5 separate regions of the Homo sapiens genome follow, and all the other regions are linked to region 1. Evidence: promoter capture Hi-C in human tissues and cell types (Jung and others, 2019). All regions are on one chromosome and are shown on one strand. Each heading gives the region's core, a stretch centred on a gene start or on the middle of the fragment in contact. The rest is flanking DNA. Distances are from core to core; before and after follow the strand shown. Region 1 has its middle 10 kb from the start of ZNF749. Region 2 holds the start of ZNF814 (zinc finger protein 814). Region 3 holds the start of ZNF552 (zinc finger protein 552). Region 4 holds the start of ZNF586 (zinc finger protein 586). Region 5 holds the start of USP29 (ubiquitin specific peptidase 29).

Evidence for each region. Contacts are between HindIII fragments. The study calls those that stand out against the background at their distance.
Region 2: the fragment with the promoter of ZNF814 here is called in contact with a fragment that was not itself captured in region 1 in 2 of the 25 tissues and cell types used here (dorsolateral prefrontal cortex and spleen).
Region 3: a contact is called between the fragment with the promoter of ZNF552 here and a fragment that was not itself captured in region 1, in 1 of the 25 tissues and cell types used here (spleen).
Region 4: a contact is called between the fragment with the promoter of ZNF586 here and a fragment that was not itself captured in region 1, in 2 of the 25 tissues and cell types used here (dorsolateral prefrontal cortex and stomach).
Region 5: a contact is called between the fragment with the promoter of USP29 here and a fragment that was not itself captured in region 1, in 3 of the 25 tissues and cell types used here (adrenal gland, dorsolateral prefrontal cortex and psoas muscle).

What each region holds. Positions count from the first base shown.
Region 1 is chr19:57,422,789-57,427,373 of GRCh38, forward strand. No RefSeq gene overlaps it. Among named protein-coding and RNA genes, the nearest start is that of ZNF749, 10 kb to the right of the region's middle. The HindIII fragment of the contact is 4,324 bases long and covers 1-3,985 here.
Region 2 is chr19:57,887,089-57,891,673 of GRCh38, forward strand. ZNF814 (zinc finger protein 814) reads right to left here and starts at 1,949. Exons shown (of 3, transcript NM_001144989.2): 1 at 1,679-1,949. The coding sequence starts at 1,714. RefSeq lists enhancers at 93-825, 850-1,393, 1,394-1,936, 1,610-1,659. The HindIII fragment of the contact is 24,676 bases long and covers 1-4,585 here.
Region 3 is chr19:57,812,789-57,817,373 of GRCh38, forward strand. ZNF552 (zinc finger protein 552) reads right to left here and starts at 2,125. Exons shown (of 3, transcript NM_024762.3): 1 at 1,923-2,125; 2 at 506-632. The coding sequence starts at 1,955. RefSeq lists an enhancer at 2,400-2,449. The HindIII fragment of the contact is 37,727 bases long and covers 1-4,585 here.
Region 4 is chr19:57,767,337-57,771,921 of GRCh38, forward strand. ZNF586 (zinc finger protein 586) reads left to right here and starts at 2,340. Exons shown (of 3, transcript NM_017652.4): 1 at 2,340-2,542. The coding sequence starts at 2,507. RefSeq lists enhancers at 2,064-2,603, 2,325-2,574. The HindIII fragment of the contact is 4,771 bases long and covers 1,021-4,585 here.
Region 5 is chr19:57,118,044-57,122,628 of GRCh38, forward strand. USP29 (ubiquitin specific peptidase 29) reads left to right here and starts at 1,942. Exons shown (of 4, transcript NM_020903.3): 1 at 1,942-2,186; 2 at 4,282-4,431. The HindIII fragment of the contact is 14,839 bases long and covers 1-4,585 here.

The sequences.
Region 1 (4,585 bases), core at 574-3,073:
TAAATTTTTTTTGTTAAAAACTAAGATACACACATTTGTCTAGGCCGGCACAGGATCAGGATAATGTCATTTTATTCCACCTTCACAACCTGTTCCAGAAGATCTTCTGGGACAGTAACACACATGGAGCTGTCATCTAAAATAACAATGCCTTTTTCTGGAATACCTCCTGAAGGACCTGCCCGAGGCTGTGTTACAGTTTGTGTGTATGTACACCTGTATATTTATAGACATACACACAACTCCATATATACTCTACTGTTGGAGAACACCTAATGATAAAAAGTGTAGTATGCTAAGAACATAAGCTAGTAACTCGTAAGTTTTATCTACTGTACATTATTGTATATGTTATACTTCTATATGACTGGCCTCACAGTAGGTTTGTTTATACCAGCATCACCATGAATATGTGATTAATATATTGCCTTACTACTGCTATCATGTCATTAGGCAATAAGCATTTTTCAGCTTCATTGTAATTTTATGGAACCACTGTCATGAATGTGGCCCATTGTTGACTGAAAAGTGAGGTGCATGATTATATATGTATGTGCCACTTTTCCTTTCATTAGTGGACATTTGGGTTGTTTCCACTCAGCTGTTGTTAATAGCAGATGAGCATGAATGTACAAATGTTTCTTTGAGGCTGTGCTTTAAATTCCTTTTGAGGATTTACTCAGAAGTAGAATTGGTGCTTTCTATGTTTTTTTTTTGTTTGTTTGTTTGTTTGTTTGTTTTTTGAGACGGGAGTCTCGCTCTGTCGCCAGGCTGGAGTACAGTGGCCTGATCTCAGCTCACTGCAGCCTCTGCCTCCGGGGTTCAAGCAGTTCTCCTGCCTCAGCCTCCCAAGTAGCTGGGACTACAGGCATGCACCACCATGCCCAGATAATTTTTGTATGTTTAGTTGAGACGGGGTTTCACCGTGTTGGCAAGGATGGTCTCAATCTCGACCTCATGATCCACTCACCTGTCCCCCTATGTTCATTTAAAAAATATTTTTAATTTTTTAAATTTCTGACTCACAATGTTCCCATTCTATGTTAATTCTGTTTTAAAATTTTTGAGGACTCTTCTATAGCAGCTGCATCATTTTTTAATTTAACTTTATTATTAATTTTTTTTTTTAGTAGTTTTACTGGGTTGAGTTTTTTTTTTTTCTTTAGGGTTATTTGGTTTTGAGATGTAGGAGTTTTTTAGTATATGTGGGGACTTCAGAAAGTTTGTGGAAACATGAAAGTAAAGGATACAAAAAGAAAACAAGTTTTATTTCTCAACATAAGCTCCATCAAGTTCAAGACAATTTTATAAGTGATGATACCAGGCATTTAGTCCATCCCTAAAGAAGTGAGGTTCCTGGGAATTTAACCTTGTCTATGCAATCTTTTTTAATATTAACTAAAGAAAAATGGGTGCCCTTTAAAGATTTTTTAAAAGTAGGAAACAAGAAGTCAGAAGGAGCCAAATCCGGACTGTAAGGTGGATGCCTTAGGGTTATCAGAATTCTTGTAAAGTTGCAGTTATTTGATGAGAGGAATGAGCAGGAGCATTGAAGTGAAGGACTCCTGGTGAAGCTTTCCCATGGGTTTTCTGCTAAAGCTTTAGCTAACTTTCTCAAAACACTCTCATTGCGGGCGCCGTGGCTCACGTCTGTAATCCCAGCAATTTGGGAGGCCGAGTTGGGCGGATCATCTGAGCTCAGGAGTTTGAGACCAGCCTGACCAACATGGAGAAACCCCCCTCTCTACTAAAAAATACAAAAATTAGCCTGGCGAGGTGGTGCATGCCTGTAATCCCAGCTACTCAGGAGGCTGAGGCAGGAGAATCGCTTGAACCCGGGAGGCGGAGGTGGCAGTGAGCCGAGATCACACCATTGCACTCCAGCCTGGGCAACAAGAGTGAAACTCCATCTCAAATAGTAATTAATAATAAAGCCATGTTTCATCTGTACAATTCTTCAAAGAAATGCTTCAGCATCTTGATCCTACTTGTTTAACATTTACATTGAAGGTTCTGCTCTTGTCTGCAGCTGATCTGGATTCAGTGGCTTTGGCACCCATTGAGTGGAAAGTTCGCACAACTTTAATTTTTCAGTCAGAATTGTGTAAGCTGAACCAATTCAGATGTCTGTGGTGTCAGTTACTGTTTCTGCTGTTAATCATCAGTCTTCTTCAATAAGGTCATGAGCAAGATGAATTTCTTCCTCGCAAATTGTTATTAATGGTTTGCCATTGTGGGCTGCGTGGTCAACATCATCTCATCTCTTCTTAAAACGTTATCAGGCCGGGCGCGGTGGCTCACGCCTGTAATCCCAGCACTTTGGGAGGCCGAGGCTGGTGGATCATGAGGTCAGGAGATCGAGACTATCCTGGCTAACACAGTGAAACCCCGTCTCTACTAAAAATACAAAAAATTAGCCGGGCGTGGTGGCGGGCGCCTGTACTCCCAGCTACTCCGGAGGCTGAGGCAGGAGAATGGCGTGAACCCGGGAGGCGGAGGTTGCAGTGAGTGGAGATCGTGCCACTGCACTCCAGCATGGGCGACAGAGTGAGACTCCGTCTAAAAAAAAAGAAAACAGGTTATCAGTTTGTAAACTCTGATTTCTCTGGGTCATTGTGCCCATAAACTTTTCTTTTTCTTTTTTTTGAGACGGAGTCTCACTCTGTCGTCTGGGCTGGAGTGCAGTGGCGCGATCTCAGCTCACTGCAACCTCCGTTTCCTGGGTTCAAGCGATTCTTCTGCTTCAGCCTCCTGTGTAGCTGGGATTACAGGCATGCGCCACCACGCCCGGCTAATTTTTGTATTTTTAGTAGTGATGGGGTTTCACCATATTGGTCAGAATGGTCTTGAACTCCTGACCTTGTGATCCGCCCAAACTCGGCCTCCCAAAGTGCTGGGATTACAGGCGCGAGCCACCGCACCCGGCCGGTTTTACCATTTTTAGAGCCAAGCTTTACTATATATTTGATATTTGTTCTTTCTTCAACCTTAGCTGAATTCACATTCCTCTGATAGAAGGTGTTTTCAAACTGATGCCGTTCTTAGTGCCTCAAACTAGATCCTGTTCATACTTGTTAGAACAAGTTATTACAAATTCACTTTGGTGTAAAAAATTGAAATCCATACATAATTTTTTTTTTTTTTTTTGACAGAGTCTCACTAACGCTAGGTTGGAGTGCAGTGGCATGATCTCGGCTCATTGCAACCTCCGCCTCCTGGGTTCAAGCAATTCTCCTGCCTCAGCCTCTTGAGTAGCTGGGATTACAGGTGCCCACAATCACGCCCAGCTAATTTTTGTATTTTTAGTAGAGATGGGTTTTCACTCTGTTGGCCAGGCTGCTCTCGAACTCCTGACCTCAGGTGATCCACCTGCCTGGGCCTCACAAAGTGCTGTGATTACAGGCTTAAGCCACCACCCCTGGCCAATTTTTTCATAATATACATTTTTTTCTCATTTTTCATGAAACTTTTGAAGACCCCTCATATTCTAGATATTCCTTCTCAGATATGTGGTTTTCAAATACTTTCTCCCATTGAGTCTTTTTCCTTTTCACTCTGTCCATTATGTCCTTTTTTACACAGGAATTTTGAATTTAAATGGAGTCTAATATATCTGTTTTATAAGTCTTTGATGCATTTGAGTTCATTTTAGCAACTTAATTCTTTTGCGTGTGGATATCCAGTTTTTTTTTTTTAACATCAAAAGAATAATGTTTTTGCCTAGCATTAAGGCCCTTGGTAGAGGCTTGTCAGTTACAATTTTGGAGCAGCAGATTAAGTCCACACTCCCAACCATTTTCCTTATCAGGCTCTCAAACTCTGGGCCACAATATGTAAGACCCAATCACCCCAGGATCAGGAATCAGATATCTAGGGACAGCTTCTGTGCCCAGGAGCTTGTAAAATTATTCCATTGGTCAATGCACAGGGGTCCCTGAAAACCTAGCTAACCCCAATTTACATGGCACACACAAGCTGCCCCCTAAGCTCCAGCTTGCTGTTATCTTGGGTTCCCTCATAACTCTTGCAGCCCTGCCTATGTCCTTAGGTTTCAAGCTGTAAGTAGCAAAGTGGTCTACATTTTATGATTATCATTGTGACATGTCCTGACATCAGAAAAACACCTTTGTATGTTATTACTATACAACCAGCAGAATATTATGAGTGCAGCAAATGTTAGAAAGTATTCAGCCTAACTTCACTGAGCAAGAGTAAGTTCATCCTGGAGAAAGTCCTTAGGAATGCAGGCAATATACTTTTTTTCCTTTGTCAACAGGTCAAAAACAGCAAAGCTCTATCGAGCTTGTCTTACTCACCCTATTTTTTTGTTGCTCTGTTTTGTTTTAGGCTTTTAGCCTGAAGCCATGGTTTTGTTTCTGTCTCTAGTGGTAGGTGGACAAGAGGAATGAGATGAGAAAGGAGCTTTACTGGCCCAGCTAGAAACAAACTAAGAACCCATGACTGTATTCTTTCCCTTGGATGACCCTGTGTTAGCTTGTTGAGGGAGATCTCAGCCTGAAATTGAATCTCACATCCAAACATCCACGCAAGGGAGATTTGTTGTAATTGTCAGATATATGGTAAA
Region 2 (4,585 bases), core at 699-3,198, 460 kb after region 1:
GAGGCAGGAGAATCGCTTGAACCCGGGAGGCAGAGATTGCAGTGAGCCGAGATCACACCATTGTACTCCTGCCTGGGCAACAAGAGCGAAACTCCGTCTCAAGAAAACAAAACAAAATAAAAAATAAAGACTACATCTAACCAGGTAAGGTCACAAACAAGGAAACTCTTCCACTATCAGTTCTCACCAGAGTATTCTGTAACTGTAAAAGATTAGGCCTTCAGCAGCTCAAAACTCAGCATCTGCTGCCTAAGGCTCTGCCACCTCAAAGACTCTTCCTTGTAAGACTGCAGGCCAATTGCCCACCAACTGGCCCAGACCAAGATGCCTTTTGTCTTCCTTGCTCCCTCTAAACTGGTTCCATAACGTTTGCTCCTATATCTTTTTCCTCTTGATGCTAAGCATTATTTTGTTCCTTGTGTTGTAATGCCCAACCTTGTTTTCACTAATCCTGTTTTTAGACTCTCCCTTTTGCTCTCTTAATCACCTAGCCTCGTTTCCACATGAATAGACTCTCGCTTAGCTGAGAAAGCCAGACGAGCTCCACCTGGCCCCCTTGATTTACAAGACATTAAGGACTCCTTACCCACCCCCCTTTCCTCAAGGAGTTAACTTGTGTAAGCAGATTCTCAACATATCAAAGGAGTCCAATTAACTGATAAGGGACTGGGAACAAACCATGTATGAAGTTCCCAGGATTTTGCTCAAAAGATAACACCATAAAGCCTTGAGTTTGTGTCTGGCGTAGTGCCCATATCTAACTCTTATGAAGGATTTAGAGCGCCACACCTGGTACCTTGCCTTTTTGTAACCATTTGTCTTTTAAATTGTTTGTTTCTCTGTAACCATTTATCCTTTTAATTTTTTGCATGTTTTTACTTCTGAAGAGTTGTTGCATTTAAGCTCCCCTCCCCTTCCTAAACCAAAGTATAAAAGTTAATCAAGCCCCTTCCTCGGGGCCGAGAGAATTTTGAGCGTTAGCCGTCTCTTTGGCCGCCAGCTGAATAAAGGACTCTTAATTCGTCTCAAAGTGTGGCGTTTTTCTAACTCGCCCGGGTACAACAGTGTTATGTTTAACCTTTAACATTTACATGTTAAGTATACTATTGTGTATTGTTTGCTATATTGACTGACTTGGGGAGTGTCTTCAGCCTCTGTGCCCATGGCCAACTACCAAGTGAACTGGAATCACAAGAGAATTGCCTCCTTCGAACTCCATTTAGCTCATGGCTTTTGTTGACTCAAATATCACCTGACACTGTGCAAAGACACAAACATGCATGGACCTGATTATCTCTACCCTTACAATGCTCATGACATCCCTCCTTTCTTCGAAAATCTCCATGCCTTCTAGGGTCCTCACGTGAGTTCATAGCCCCCAGCCTGCTTGCTCTTCCAGGAGGAGCTCCGCCTCATAATTTGCTCCCAACAGGCACCTGTGGACCCCAGATTCCATCCTTCTGGCTCAGTTCACTTCCAGGCCTTTGCCCGCGCCAGTCCCTGTACCTGCCGGTCTCCCCACCGCATCCCACGGGTGTCAGAAATGGGGCCCCTCCCGCAAGCGCCTCAGTGTCCCAACGCCGGCGTCCGGGCTGCAGAGCCGTGAACAGGCGCTGCTACCTCGCTGCTTTTGGGTGACGATGAGGTGACCTGAGGACACAGAAGGCCCCACAATTACCTGAGCGGAGAGCCTCAGCGTAGCCGCGGCAGCCATCGAACCACGTGGTTTTAAGCAGAGTCGGGAGGATAGGGCGACCAGCCAGGAGATATGGGCACGACGGTCCGTATCCTGGCCCAGGAGTGGGTCACGCTGGGCGCCGTCACAGAGCTCCAGAGTAGCCTCTGTGCAGCGGAGGACAACTGCTCCCCGACTTCTGGGTTCAGTCACCACAGTGCGGACCTAGCGCTCAGGAGCCTCTCCTACAAATAAATCCAACACCAATCAAAATGGCCGCCACCAGAGGGCGCCGGAAGTCCGGACCCATTGTCACGTGCACACAGGAAACGCCTTTATTCTGAGCCCTCAGAGGTCTTCTACGCTATCATTCGAGGCTGAGTTTTCTGGGTAATGTAGTTCCCTAGGCAACAAGGAGGGTAAAGGGCGCAATTCCCAGAGGCGCTTCTGCAGGAAAAGCCCAGCTTCACCTCGGGAGTATCCTTAAGATGTGCGTCCTGACTGGTATGGTGGCTCCCGCCTGTAATTCCACCAGTTTGGGAGGCCAAGTCACAAGGATCATTTGAGGTCAGGAGTTAGAAATTAGCCTGAGCAACAAAGCAAAATCCTGTCTCTACAAAAAATAAAAAATATTAGCGGAGTGTGGTCGGGCGGGCCTGTGGTCCCAGCTGCCCTAAGGTTGGGGTTAGGGTTAGGGAGCCTGAGGAGGGAGAATCGCTTGAGCTCAGGAGTTCGAAGCTGCTGTAAGCCGAGATCGTACCACTGCATTCCAGCCTGGGCAACAGAACGAGACCTCTTATCTAAAAAATAAAAATAAGGGCCAGGTGCGGGCGGCTCACGCCCGTAATCCCAGCACTTTGGGAGGCCGAGGCAGGTGGAACACCTGAGGTCAGGAGTTCAAGACTGGCCTGGCCAACATGGTGAAACCCCGCCTCTACTAAAAATACAAAAATTAACCCACATGGTGACATGCGCCTGTAATCCCAGCTACTGGGGAGGCCGAGGCAGGAGAATCTCTTGTACATGGGAGTCAGAGGTTGCGGTGAGTGAGATCCTGCCACTGCACTCCAGCCTGGGTGACACAGCAAGACTCCATGTTGGAAAAAAAAATAAAAATAAAAATAAAAAAATAAATAAAAGATTGCAGATCTTTCTCCTAGGCAGAGGATCATCCTGCCTCTCCTTAGAACTCACATTGAGATTTCTTGGGGTTATTGGCTGTAACTGATTACCCTAGTGTATGGAAAAATATTATTTCAGAGTTAGTGTAGATGTTCCCAAAGGCTACAGATCCAAATTCACCTATCATTTCAGATGGTCCTTCAGATGCAAAATTCTTCCACTGGAAGCAAAGATTAATGCAAAGATTAATAACCATTATTGTATTGTTAAAATGAACGTGTAAACACCCAGAGGGTTCATTTTTCCTACTGCCCAGATAAAGCCAATTTATCAGGACAGGGAAATTGCAAAAGAAAAAGAGTTTTATTCACACAGAGTTGGATGAACAGCATACTGGAGTCTTACTAGTATTACTCAAATCAGTCTCCCTGAAAATTGCGAGACTGGGGTTTTTTGTTGTTGTTGTTGTTTATTTGTTTGTTTGTTTTCTGAGACAGAATTTTGCTCCTGTTGCCCAGGCTGAAGTGCAATGTCACGATCTCAGCTCACTGCAACCTCCGCCTCCTGAGACTGGGGTTTTTTAAGGATAATTTGGTAGATAGGGGGCCATGAATTGGGGAATGCTGATTGGTTGGGTTGGAGATGAAATCATAGGGAGTCAAAGTTGTTCTCTTGTGCTGAGTGGGTTCTGGGGGAGAGGGAGGCACAAGACCAGATAAGCCAGTTTACCCATCTGAGTGGTGCCATCAGATCCATCAAGTTCAGGGTCTGAAAAATATCTCCAGCACCAATCTTAGCTTTTGCAATGGTGATACCATCCCTAGGAACAACTGGGGATGTTTACAGTCTTGTGGCCCCTGGCTGCATGACTCCTAAATGATAATTTCTAATCTATGGGGCCCTAATAAATCAGTAAGTTAACAGGAATTGGGAAGGAGCCAAGCTGGCAGAACAAGAACCTAACCCCATCTGCAACCTCTTTGTGGGAAGAAACCACAGCTGTCAGAAGTGTTTAACAGAGCAACTCCGTCTTGAATAGGGGTTGGATAAAATGAGGCTGAGCTGCATTCCCAGACAGTGAAGACATTCTAAGTCACAGGATGAGATAGGAGGTCAGCACAAGATACAGGCCATAAAGACGTTGCTGATAAAACAGTTTGCAGTAAAGAAGCCGGCTAAAACCCACCAAAACCAAGATGGCCATGAGAGTGACCTCTGGTCGTCCTCACTGCAACACTCCCATCAGTGCCATGACAGTTTACAAATGCCATGGCAACATCAGGAAGTTATCCTATATGGTCTAAAAAAAGGAGGCATGAATAATCCACCCTTTGTTTAGGATATAATCAAGAAATAGGGGCCAGGCGCGGTGGCTCACGCCTGTAATCCCAGCACTTTGGGAGGCTGAGGTGGGTGGATCACAAGGTCAGGAGATCGAGACCATCCTGGCTAACACGGTGAAATCCTGTCTCTACTAAAAATACAAAAAATTAGCTGGGCGTGGTGGCGGGTGCCTGTAGTCCCAGCTACTTGGGAGGCTGAGGTAGGGGAACGGCGTGAACCCGGGAGGTGGAGCTTGCAGTGAGCCGAGATTGCACCACTGCACTCCAGCCTGGGTGACAGAGTGAGACTCCGCCTCAAAAAAAAAAAAAAATCAAGAAATAACCATAAAAATGGGCAGCCATGCCAGGCATGGTGGCTCACCCCTGGAATCCCAGCACTTTGGGAGACCAAGGTGGGAGGATCATGAGATCAGGAGATGGAGACCATCCTGGCTAACAACAGGGT
Region 3 (4,585 bases), core at 875-3,374, 390 kb after region 1:
GAACTCCTGGCCTCAAGTAATCCACCTACCTTGGCCTCCCTGAGTGCAGAAATTATAGGCATGAGCCACTGCACCAGACCTATGAAGAGAATTTCTAAGGACGGTATTACAAGAACAGTCTATAGTCTATGTAGGCAGTGACAATGTCAATGAAGACAATTCCTGGCACAGGGAGGCATGAAGAAATAACAGGTAGAGGAATGAATTAGATCCCGAACCTGAAATCTGGATGAAATCACACAAACATCCACAGGACAAACAAGGTAGCCTGCATTAAGTTGCCTGTAAGACTTCTGACTCTGAATTCTTCCCTGGGAGCTCAATAGCAGGTGTTGGGGCTGCTCCAAGAATGGAGAGGGCAGTATGCATACCTCAGTCCTACCAACCAAGAACTGAAGTAGGAAGCTGTGTCCATGCTCCTGACATGAGAAAGTCTTGCCAATAGAAAAAGAGGGGGAAAGACAGAGACTAGCTCAGGTCACAGGGGTGAGTGTGGGCAACTTACCCAGGGAGGACATAAGTGCCAGGTTCTCCAGCGTCACATCACGGTACAGGCATCTCTGAGCCTCACTAAGGAGATTCCATTCCTCCTGGGTAAATTTCACAGCCACGTCTTCAAAAGTCACTGTGCCCTGTTATGATGTTGACAGATGAAACCACAAACCACCCCTATGCTGAGGTATCACAATCCATCTCTCCCACACATCTACTCTCGCACATCCTCCTCTCAAGGTCCTCAAACATAGGAGAAACTAGGCCCACTGGTCATGGGGTACAGCCACCAACAACAATAGTTAGTTGAACAAATAGGTATCTGTGCGGTGGCTGTGATATAAGAGTCCACCCCCTCCTGACAGGCACTTCCCCTAGTATGGCCGAGGTCATGGAAAGCCCAATGTGGCACCTTCAGCACAGCAGAGATACCCTCTCTGAACGCACCTCATTCTTTTTTTTTTTTTTTTTTTTTTTTTTTTGATACGGAGTCTCGCTCTGTCACCCAGGGTGGAGTGCAATGGCGCGATCTCGGCTCACGCAACCTCCGCCTCCCGGGTTCAAGCGAGTCTGCTGCCTCAGTTTCCCAAGTAGCTGGGATTACAGGCATGCGCCACCACGCCTGGCTAATTTTGTATTTTTAGTAGAGACAGGGTTTCTCCATGGTTGGTCAGGCTGGTCTCTACCTCCGGACCAACCCGCCTAGGCCTCCCAAAGTGCTGGGATTACAGGAGTGAGCCACTGCACCCGGCCCCACCCTCCACTTTCTTGTATGCGTTCCTTAAATGCTTCTACAGCCATAAAGGCCTGAGGGAAGAGGCTGACTTTACAGGACTGTGTCCCTGATAGGATCTGGTAAGCTCAGGCCTCCCTGAACGCTTTTGTGTCCACGGAGCCAGGTGACCTTGGACTATTGTCTAACCTGCGTGTCTCAGCACAAAGTGTCATCTCTACCACCTATATGATCTACAAGGATTCAATCTCAAAGGGCCCCAACGTCATCCCCTCTCTACTCTGTTATTTATTTGGCCTTTAGGAAACTTTAAAAGCCTGGACTTTGATCCAGTCCCTTCTTTCTTGGAAATTCTCCTATTTCTAGTGTCCTCGCAATGATTTCACAGCCCCCAGCCTCCTTGCTTTTCCAGGAGGAGTTCCGCCTCACAGGTTGTTCCCTACAGGCGCCTGTGGACCCCAGGTTCCATCCTCCCGGATCCGTCCATCTCCAGGCCATTGCCCGCGCCCCTCCCTGTACCTGTCGCTCTCCCCACCGCATCCCACGGGTGTCTGAAACAGGGATCCCTCCCGAGAGCGCCTCAGTGTCCCGACGCCGGGTCCGGGTTGCAGAGCCGTAAACAGGTGCCGCTCCCTCGCTGCTTTAGGACTTGTGTGACTAGGAGGTGACCGGAGAGCACGGAAGGCGCCACAATTACCTGAACGGGGAACCTTAGCGCGGCCGCCGCCATGGGACCACGTGGGGTAAGCTGGGTTGAGAGCAGCGGGCGCCGTTAAAGAGCTGCAGAGTCACGTCTGTGCAAAGAGAAGAACGACTCTCGACCTCCTGGATCCAGTCACCACCACGGTCCCAACACAGCGCTCCAAGGACTCCCTAACGCCAATGGAAATGGTCGCTACTAAAGGGCGCCGGGAGTCCCGCCTCTACCTTACTTGCGCACACGGAAACGCCTTCAATGTGAACTCTCACTGGCTCTGCCGTGCTGTCATTTGACGCAGAGCTTTCTGGGTAATGTAGTTTCCCAGGTTCCAAGGCCGTAAAGAGAGAGATTCCCAGGGGCGCTTCGGAAGGAAAAGCCCAGCTCCACCTCCGGGGCCCTCAGGGAAGCCTCCTGACCCGCACGGTGGCGCGCGCCTGTAATCCCAAATTTTGAGAGGCTGAGGTGTCAGGACTGCTTGAGCCCAGGTGGTCCAGGCTGCACTGAGCTATGACTGCACCACTGCACTCCAGCCTGGGCGACAGAACCTGTCTCAAAAGAAAAAGAAATGTTAATTAAGCGTTTGTGCTGTTAAGGGAGGAGACCACCTCTCATATTGTTTTATGCCCAATTTCTGCCTCCAAAGAAACAAGTAAAAACTAAAAGGCAGAAATGAAATCCACAGGCAGACAGCCAGGTGCCAACCCTGGGCCTGGTTAAAGATCGACCCCTGACCAAACCGGTTATGTTATCTATGGATTCCAGACATTGTATGGAAAAGCATTGTGAAAATCCCTGTCCTGTTCTGTTCCGTTCTGATTACCACTGCATGCAGCCCCCAGTCGTGTACCCCCTGCTTGCTCAATCGATCACAAACCTCTCATGTGGACCCCCTTAGAGTTGTAAGCCCTTAAAAGGGACAGGAATTCCTCACTTGGGGAGCTTGGTAGTTGGAGATGTGAGTCTTGCCAAAGCTCCAGGCTGAATACAGCCCTGCGGCTTGTCCTGCTACATTTCTTGGTTCCCTGACTGGGAAGCCAGGTGATTAACAGATAGTCGAGGCAGCCCCTTAGGCAGCTTAGGCCTGCCCTGTGGAGCATCCCTACAGGGGACTCTGGCCAGCTTGAGGGACGCAGAACCTGAGAGCACTCCCGGGTAGGCAATTGCCCCAGTGGAACACCTCGCCAGAGTGGCGTGTGGCAGGCCCCCACAGAGGATCAATGCAGCGGCTGAACACTGGGAAGGAACAGGCACTTGGAGTCCGGACATCTGAAACTTGGTAAGACTAGTCTTTGGAACTTGCCCACTCCATTTGAGTGGAAGGGTGGCCTGATCACCCACGGCATGCCTGTACCGGCACTTTGGTTTTTGTTTTTGACTTGATTTGGATTGCTTGATACTTTCGTTTTGGTTTTGACCTGGCTTGGATTTCTGGATACTCTGATTTGGATTTTGATTCTGGTTTGGTGTAAACGGTAAAAGTGTATGTGTGCCCTTTTTACCTGTTCTTTGTTTTGTGGTGTGCGTGTGGTGTGAGCGTGGTGTTTTGTCTCAAAGAAGCATGGGTCAGGCACAAAGTAAGCCCACTTCACTAGGAACTATGTTGAAACATTTCAAGAAAGGATTTAAGGGAGATTACAGTGTTACTATGACACCAGGAAAACTTAGAACTTTGTGTGAAATAGACTGGCCAGCATTAGAGGTGGGTTGGTCATCAGAAGGAAGCCTGGACAGGTCCCTTGTTTGAAAGGTATTGTGTCCAGAATTGGTTCCTTCCGGTGGGTTCTTGGTCTCGCTGACTTCAAGAATGAAGCCGCAGACCCTCACGGGCAGTGTTAAAGTTCTTAAAGATGGTATGTCTGGAGTTTGTTCCTTCAGGTGTTCAGATGTGTCTAGAGTTTCTTCCTTCTGGTGGGTTCGTGGTCTCGCTGGCTTCAGGAGTGAAGTGGCAGACCTTCGCGGTGAGTGTTACAGCTCATAAAGGCAGTGCGGGCCCAAAGAGTGAGCAACAGCAAGATTTATTGCGAAGAGCGAAAGAACAAAGTTTCCACAGTGTGGAAGGGGACCTGGGCGGGTTGCTGCTACTGGCTGGCCAGCTTTTATTCCCTTATTTGACCCCACCCACATCCTGCTGATTGGTCCATTTTATACAGCGACAGAGTGAGACTCCACCTCAAAAAAAAAAAAAAAAAAAAAAAGAAGAATCTCATTTTGAAGCCAAAACCATCAGAGTGACCATTCCAATTATGTGCTGAGCATAATTCCATCTCTTAGACATCAGTGCTAACATTTCTCTGAGGCCCTAAGTTTTTTCACCATCTACTGATGTTTCCTCAGAACTACTTCTGTCAGAACTGTTGAATAATTACCTAGTCAGTGTTTTTTGTTTTTTTTTTTCACACAGAGTCTCGCTCTGTCGCCCAGGCTACAGTGCAACGGCTCAATCTTGGCTCACTGTAACCTCTGCCTCCTGGGTTCAAGTGATTCTTCTGCCTCAGCCTCCTGAGTAGTTGGGATGACAGGTGCGTGCCGCCACGCCCAACTAATTTTGTACTTTTAGTAGAGACGAGGTGTCACCATATTGGCCAGGGTGGTCTCAAACTCCTCACCTGGTGATCCACCCGCCTCGGCCTCCCAAAATGCTGAGATTACAGGCATGAGCC
Region 4 (4,585 bases), core at 1,090-3,589, 350 kb after region 1:
GAGGCTGGTCTCGAATTCCTGACCTCGTGATCCGCCCACCTCTGCCTCCCAAAGTCCTGGGATTACAGGCATGAGCCACCGCACCCGGCCAACTTTTTTGTTTGTTTGTTTGTTTGTTTGTTTGAGACGGAGTCTCGCTCTGTCCCCCAGCCTGGAGTGCAGTGGCGTGATCTCGGCTCACTGCAACCTCCGCCTCCCGGGTTCAAGCCATTCTCCTGCCTCAGGCTCCGGAGTAGCTGGGACTACAGGCGCCTGCCACCACGCCCAGCTAATTTTTTTGTATTTTTAGTAGAGACGGGGTTTCATCATATTAGCCAGGATGGTCTCGATCTCCTGACCTCGTGATCCGCCCGCCTCGGCCTCCCAAAGTGCTGGGATTACAGGTGTGAGCCACCGCGCCCAGCCAACTTTTTTTTTAAGTATAGAAAATTTTACAGGTTGGGCGCGGTGGCAGGCGCCTATAATCCCAGCTGCTCGGGGGGCTGAGACAGGAAAATCACTTGAACTTGGCCAAGAGGCGGAGGTTGCAGTGAGCCGAGATCGCAGCAATGCACTCCAGCCTGGGTGACAGAGCGAGACTCCATCTCAAAAAAAAAAAAAAAAAAAGAGGTGGAGATTTCCCAGAACTGAGGTTCCCTCCCCTTTTTAGACTATATAGGGTAACTTCCAAACATTGCCAGGGCATTGGTATACTGTCATGGCGCTGGCGGGAGTTAGTATGCTAATGCATTATAATTAGCGTATAATGAGCAGTGAGGATGACCACAGGTCACTTTCATCACCATCTTGGTTTTGGTGCGTTTTAGCCAGCTTCTTTACTGCATCCTGTTTTATCAGCAGGGTCTTTGTGACCTGCATCTTGTGCCAACCTCCTATCTCATCCTGTGACTAAGAATGCCTAACCTGGGAATGCAGCCGAGTATTTCTCAGCCTTACTTTATCCAGCCCATTTTCAAGATGGAGTCACTCTGATTCCAATGCCACTGACAATGATAAGCACTTGCCAGCAAAGAGGTGAACGCATGGATTTAAGGCACTTGAAATATCTCAGTGTAAAAGCACCCTGTGCATGTAGCAGGACGAGCCGCAGACAAAACCTCTCAGACACCGAGTTGCAGAAGGAAGGGCTTTATTCAGCTGGGAGCATTGGCCAGCTACTGTCTCAAAATCTGAGCTCCCGGAGTGCACAATTTCTGTCCCTTTTAAGGGCTCACAACACTAAAGATTTCACATGAAAGGGTCGTGATTGATTTGAGCAAGCAAGGGGTATGTGACAGGGGCTGCATGCACCGGTGGTCAGGGAGGAACAGAACAGGGCAGGGAGTTTCACAATGTTCTTCTATACAATCTAAGGAATCTATGAATAACATCGGCTTCTAAATCATAAGTTGATTTTTAACTACTGGGTTTAGGCCAGGCGGGCCTAGGCCTGGTTTCGGGCCTGGCGCGGGGTTGCCTGTCTTTGGTTTTACTTCCTTGTTGTTTTTACTGAATATAAAACAATGTGAGAGGGTCTCTCTCTTCTCTCATGCATACATACTCCATGTTTGAACACCGCAGCCATTGTCCTGTAACATAATAGCATTTGTCTCATTAGCTTTTTGATGTTGATATCAGATTTCTAGAGGAATCTGTAGGTTAAAGATATAAATAAAAGTGTTGCTAATGGGCTGAGAACGGTGGTTCACGCCTGTAATCCTAGCACTTCGGTAGACCATTGCAGGCAGATCACTTGAGGCCAGAAGTTCGAGACCAGCCTGGCCAAAATGAGGAAACCCCGTCTCTACTAAAAATACAAAAATTAGCAGGGTATGGTGGCACACGCCTGTAATCCCAGCTACTCGGATGGTTGAGGCACGAGAATCGCTTGAACCCGGGAGGCATAGGCTGCAGTGAGCCAAGATCACACCACTGCACCCCAGCCTGAGTGACAGAGAGAACTATGTCTTAAAAAAAAGACAAAAAAAAAAAAAAAAGGAAGAAGCCGAGCATCACAAATTCTGAAATAAGAAGTCTCCAAACACGCGGGCAATCAGTTGCACACAGTACCCCCAGAAATGTGCGTATGGCCTCTTCTAAGATGGGAGACCCTCCTCCGCATCTGGACCTGGAGTCGCCATTTCCTAGCGCCCCTCGCAGTGGAGCTTGCCCCTTTCTTCGGAAAGTCGGAAGAAAGCCACCTTAAGCGCTGCCCATGTCTGGGAACTACATTACCCAGAATCCGCCCTGCGAAATGGTAACGTGGCTGAGCCAATGAAGCTTCAGAGAAGCCGTGCCATTGCCGGGGCACGTAAAGTCAAGCCAGGACTTCCGGCGTCCTAGCCGTGGCAGCCATTTTGGCCTGTCAGGTCCATCCGGCGATGCTGGGTCTGGACGAGCTCGGGAGGAGTGGTTGTGGCCATTGCACACAGGCGGATCTGAGGTTCGGCGACGCCGCTGGTCGCGACCCGGGACAGGACAACGACAGGAACACCGCCGAGCCCGCGTTCCCCCCCCGCCCAGAGTCATGGCGGCAGCAGCCGCTCTGAGGGCGCCTGCTCAGGTGAGCGCTGCGACCTCCGGGCCTTACCCACCCTACCCACCCAGACCCTGAGGCCCCTGATCGTGAGGGCCGCCTCCTCGCGTCCCTGCAGCCCAGGCCTCTGTCAGGGACGGAGAGGCGCCGGCGGGTGGGATCCCTGTTTCCGACACCCAGTTGATGCGGTCGGCAGAGCGAGACTGGCGGAGGGCAAAGGCCTGCAGGCGCGACTGAGGCAGGAGGATGCGGAACACGGGGACATCGTGTGTCTACTGGGAAAGAAGTGTGATACGGAGTTATTTCTTTTTTTTTTTTTTTTTGAGACGGAGTCTCACTCTGTCGCCCAGGCTGGAGTGCAGTGGCGCGATCTCGGCTCACTGCAAGCTCCACCTCCCCGGTTCAAGCGATTCTCCTGCCTCAGCCTCCCGAGTAGCTGGGATTACAGGCATGCGCCACCACGGGGTTTCACCATGTTGGCTAGGCTGGCCTCGAACTCCTGACCTTAGGTGATCCGCCCACCTCGGCCTCCCAAAGTGCTGGGAATACAGGCGTGAGCCACCGCGCCTGGCCGAGGCGGAGTTGTTTCTTCAGTACCAGGCTGAGGGTTGAACTTTGACTGTGAGGACGCTAAAAGCCATGGACAGTTTTGAACAAAGGAGGAAATCTGTGTTAGAGTTGCGATTCCCAAAAGATGTTCGAAGGAAGAACAGAGTTGAAGGCAGTGATGAGGACATTGAGAGGTTGAATCATTGAGAGGTGACATTGAGCACTGGGCCACAAGATTAGAGACTCAGTCTGAAGTCATCTGGCTGCAGGGCCAAAAAAAGCTTACAGAGAAGCCTGAGTCTATCAAATCCGAGCACAGACACATTTGTGAAAGCCCTGCCTTTTGGCACACCTCATGGCTACAGAAGCACTTACAGAATCCACAGTAGGAAGTAGGGGATGCTCTAGTCCTTCACTGGTCCTCATCCTATCCCACATGTCTAGATCTTGGCATCTTTTTTTTTTTTCGGCGACGGGTTCTCACTCAACACCCAGGCTGGGTTGCGGTGACGCGATCACGGCGCAGCACGGCCTCGACCTCTCCGGGCTCAGGAGAGCCTCTCATCTCAGTCTCCCGAGTAACTGGCTTTTTGTATTTTTAGTAGAGGTGGGGTTTCACGGCCGGGCGCGGTGGCTCACGCCTGTAATCCTAGCACTTTGGGAGGCCGAGGCGGGCGGATCACGAGGTCAGGAGTTTGAGACCATCCTGGCTAACACGGTGAAATCCCCCCTCTACTAAAAATACAAAAAATTAGCCAGGCCTGGTGGCACACACCTGTAGTCCCAACTACTTGGGAGGCTGAGGCAGGAGAATCGCTTGAACCCGGGAGGCAGAGGTTGCAGTGAGCCGAGATCGCGCCACTGCACTCCAGCCTGGGCGACAGAGAAAGACTCCGTCTGAAAAAAAAAAAAAAAAGAGAGAGAGAGAGATGGGGTTTCGCCATGTTGCCCAGGCTAGTCTCGAACCCTTGGGCTCAAGCAGTCCTCTTGCTTCGGCTTCCCAAAGTGCTGGGATGCCAAGCAGGAACTACCGCACCTCCTAGGACACTTAAGTGCCATTTCTCCGGTCCTTCAATCTGGGGATCTTGGAAAAACCTCAAACCCCAAACCTACATCAGTGACATAGGTTATGGGGAGTTGTTGCTATGTCTGTCAACTAATGTAACACATGTGGAGGGTTCACCCAGGAACTGATACTGGGGTGTGCAAATACTTACTTAGAAGTGAAACTAGAGGGGTGAGGTGATGTTACCAATTTCTTAATAGGCGCTGTCTGGTTACTGAGTGGGCAACAGACTGTGGGGTTGAGGGAGGAGGAAGATCAAACTGGAAGCTACTGCCCTAGTCGAGGTGAGGATTAATGGACTAGAGTTGTGGCTTAGGCAATGTGGCTAGATCTGGATTTGTGTTTTTTAGAGGGGCAAGTCAATTTTTTTTTTCCCAAGATGGAGTCTGGACCTGTTGCCCAGGCTGGAGTGCAATAGTGGAATCTTGGCTCACTGCAACCTCCGCCTCCTGAGT
Region 5 (4,585 bases), core at 692-3,191, 300 kb before region 1:
GGTGTCTTCCTTTAGTGTACAAACACCTTGGATGTTTGAGGAAATCCAAAGACAAGGTTCTAGGCATTTTATACGTGTTAACTCATGTATTATGTTAATTCTCACAATAATCCTTTGGAACTAGTACGATCACCATCCCTGCCTTATTGAGGAGGAAATGGGGTACAGAGAGCTTAAGCAACTTGCCAGTGTCATGCAGCAGGGAAGCGCTGGAGGCAGGGCTCCAACCCACGCAGCCTTGCTGCATGTTTGTGGAATGAACACAGGACTCAGGCACACAACCATCTGGCTGAGGCTCCATGAGCAGCCAGGAGCCTGGTCCCAATGCAGTCTCCTTATAGGCACAAATGGGGTGCCCCTTGAGACAGGAATAATAAAGGTGGTCACAGGAGAACGGAAAATTCCAGGCAACAGTTTCACATGACTAGCAAAGGAAACCGTTGAAATCGCTGCGTAAGCTAGGGGCGGATAAGACTCTGAAAACCAGGGTGTGGGCCAAGCTGGCTAAAGCCGACTGGACCCAACATGGTGCTGGATTCGACCCGTTTCACCTAGGACCTCTCATTATGTGCTCATTAACATACTAAGTCACACACCCACTGTGACAGCTCTGGGGAACACCCGTATTTAGTATAAAAATGTGTGGCACCGCAGTACCAAGAAATGTTTACCTTTTTCCAAGAATCTTCATGAATATTCCACCCCTTGGTTAAATAAATATTTAAAGGTAGCTCCAAACCCCGCTGGGCGTGATGCTCTGTGGTATGCCTGCACTTTTCTTTCTTCAGTACGTACTTATTCCCGTCGCAATGAATCTCCACACTTTGTTCTGCTCATCCATGAATTCCTTCTCACGACAGTGTCAAGAGCCTGGACACCAGTCAGGGTCGAGGCCTCACCAGCATCTTGGGGCCTCACTGGGCACAGACGCGTGAGCGCCCGGCCTGCAGACCTGACTCTGGCAGCCGCTCAGGCCCTCAGAGGGAGAGATGGAAGCTGGCAGGACGCAGTTGCTACCGCGCGGACCCGGCCCCCGACCAGCCTTGGCCCCTCGCGCGCCGGGACAGGGCCACAAATGACTGCACCTGGGCTTCGCTGGCCCAGGCACCACGCGACTCTAAGCGCGCCCAAAGCGACCCTCTGCGCAAACTACCCCCGGGGACGACGTCACCCGTGAGGTCCCGCGGCGCCTCCTCCTAAAGCTCGGCTGGGAAACCGTCCGCTTCCCCAAGACTTGGGGGCTTGTGGCCGAGTTGTTTTAGTTTTCCTGTAGGATTCACGGGTGGCTGAGGCAAACACGCTTGAAGGCCTAAGACTTTTAAGTCTCTTCCGCACCCTCTCTTCTGTCTCTTCCACCTGGAGGATGACCGCTTTTTTGGGGGTTTTGTTGTTGTTTTGAGACGGAGTCTCGCTCTGTCGCCCAGGCTGGATTGTAGTGGCGCCATCTCCGCTCACTGCAACCTCCGCCTCCCGGGTTCAAGCGATTCTCCTGCCTCAGCCTCCCGAGTAGCTGGGATTACAGGCGCCCACCACCATGCCCGGCTGATTTTTGTATTTTTAGTAGAGACGGGGTTTCGCCACGTTGGTCAGGCTAATATCAAACTCCTGACCTCAGGTGATCCGCCCTCCTCGGCCTCCCAAAGTGCTGGGATGACAGGCGTGAGCCACCGCGCCCGGCCGGGATGACTGTTATTAACAATTCCCGGCGTGGTTTCTAGCACCAGCCCACCTACCACACCCCACCTCGCTTGAGGCTGAATGGGTAACAGGATGAACCCGCCCCTGGGCTGGTTTTCTCTGAACCCTAACTCCTGCCGTTACGCCCCACCAGCTCTAGGCCAGGAACTCTATGTGCCCCGGCCACGCTAGAGCCCGTACCTAGACCCGTAGGTCGGGAGGCCTGCGCCCGGCACTGCGCAGACGCAGCGTGCTGTGCCCAGAACTCTTCTGTTCCCAGGAGAATCAGGGGAGTCGGCGCCGGAAGGGGCGGGTCCGAGCTGAGATTTCCAGAGCCATGGGAGCCGGAAGTCCAAGGAACTGTACCTCCATCATGACGACTCCGGTTACGTAAAAACATTCAAACAGAAAATGCTGGCCAGGCTCATGCCTGTAATCCCAGCACTTTGGGAGGCCGAGGCGGGAGGATCGCTTGTGCCCAGGAGTTGGAGACCAGCCTGGGCAACATAGTGAGACCCTCCCCCCACCCATCTCTACAAAAAATTTTAAAATTAGCTAGCTGAGATCATGCCACTGCACTCCAGCCTGGACAACAAAGTGAGACTATGTCTCAAAAAAATTTAAAAATTACCCACGCCTGTAGTGTCAGATAGTCAGGAGGCAGAGGTTGGAGGATGACTTGAGCCTTGGGGATCGAGGGTGTAGTGAGGTATGATCGCACCACTGCACTCCAGCCTGGGCAACAGAGCAAGACCCTGTCTCAAAAACTATATAAAAGAAAAAAGGGCTGGGTCGGTGGCTCACGCCTGTCATGCCAGCACTTTGGGAGGCCGAGGCGGGTAGATCACCTGAGGTCAGGAGTTTGAGACCAGCCTGACCAACAAGGTGAAACCCTGTCTCTACTAAAAATACAAAAATTAGCTGGCCATGATGGTGGGTGCCTGTAATCCCAGCTACTGGGGAGGCTGAGGCAGGAGAATCACTTGAACCCCAGAGGTGGAGGTTGCAGTGAGCCGAGATCACACCACTGCACTCCAGCCTGGGCGACAGAGCGAGAGACTCCGTCTCAAAAAAAAAAAAAAAAAAAAAAAAACAGAAAAAAGGCCGGGCACGGTGGCTCACTCCTGTAATTCCAGAACTTTGGGAGGCCAAGGCGGGCGGATCAGGAGTTCGAGACTGCCTGGGCAACATAGCGAAACCCCGTCTCTACTAAAAATACAAAAAATTAGCCAGGCGTGGTGGCGGGCTCCTGTAATCCCAGCTACTCAGGAGGCTTAGGCAGGAGAATCACTTGAACCCAGGAAGCAGAGGCTGCAGTGAGCCGAGATCACGCCATTAAACTCCAGCCTCGGTGACAGAGTGAGACTCCATCCCCGCTCCGCTCCCTCACCTCCCGCCAAAAAAAAAAAAGAAAATGCACTGCAATAGAAAAATAAAAGTACTACACTTTGGTCAAACAGGGTAACTACTAGAACGTAAAATGATCTTTTTGAAACTATCCACATTTGTTACACGTGTTGAAAATGTAGGATATATATGTTATATATATACTTATATATGTTATATATACTTATATATGTTATATACTTATATATGTTATGTACTTATATATTATATATACTTATATATGTTATATCTACTTATGTTATATACTTATATATGTTATATATACTTATATATGTTATACATACTTATATGTTATATATACTTATGTTATATACTTATATATGTTATATATACTTATACATGTTATACATACTTATATGTTATATATACTTATATATGTTATATATACTTATATATGCTATATATACTTATATATGCTATGTATACTTATATATGTTATATATATACTTATATGTATGTTATATATACTTATATATGTTATATATGCTTATATGTATGTTATATATGCTTATATGTTATATATACTTACATATGTTATATATACTTACATATGTTATATGTACTTACATATGTTATATATATACATATATGTTATATATATATAATTATATATATATAAAACAAAAAGCACGGTTACTACAAAGAAAACAGGTAAACATTAAGTGGAGTAAAAGTATATCCTGTTATATAAGGGACTTGAACATGTCTGGGCATGGTGGCTCAAGCCTGTAATCCCAGCACTTTGGGAGGCTGAGGCGGGTGGATTACTGGAGGTCAGGAGTTCGAGACCTGGGCAACATAGCAAGACCTTGTCTCTATTAAAAAATAGATAGATAGATAGATAGATAGATACATAGAACATCAAAAGAGGGAGAGAGAAAGCAGACAGATGTGGCAAAATATACACAATTGGTAAATTTGGGTGAAGGGAATATAAGTTATTTCTACTAATCTTGCAATTCTTATGTATATTTGCAATGATTTCTAAATAAAAGTTTTTAATTACCAATTGAAATAAAGTAAAATAAGTCACTATCTAGCCTTTTCTAGACAAATATTTTAAACTCTTACACAGAGATAAGTTAATCAAGAAACGTATTTCCTGGAAAAACCCGTGATATGGGTGGAGCCACCTGGGAATAAAAGGTCGGAACATCATAATCACTGTCAGACTCAACTTCCATCATTCTCCTCCAGGCGCTATGGAGTCTAATCCAGGCACTTTGGAAGGCTGAGGCTGGAGGATCGATTGAGGCCAGGAGTTTGGGACCACCCTGGGCAACATAGCAAGATCTCATTTCTGAAAAAAGAATTATCATCCACTCACCCAGAACAGCTCTCCAAACTGTAAGTTTCATTCAAGGTTTGCTTGTTTGGGTGATGGGATGTGTGTGTGTGTGTGTGTGTGTGTGTGTGTGTGTGTGTGTGTATGTGTGTGTGAGTGTTGGAAGGAGGGTCTGTCTAAACTTAATGCCCTAAAGATATTGTCAGATATTGTGAT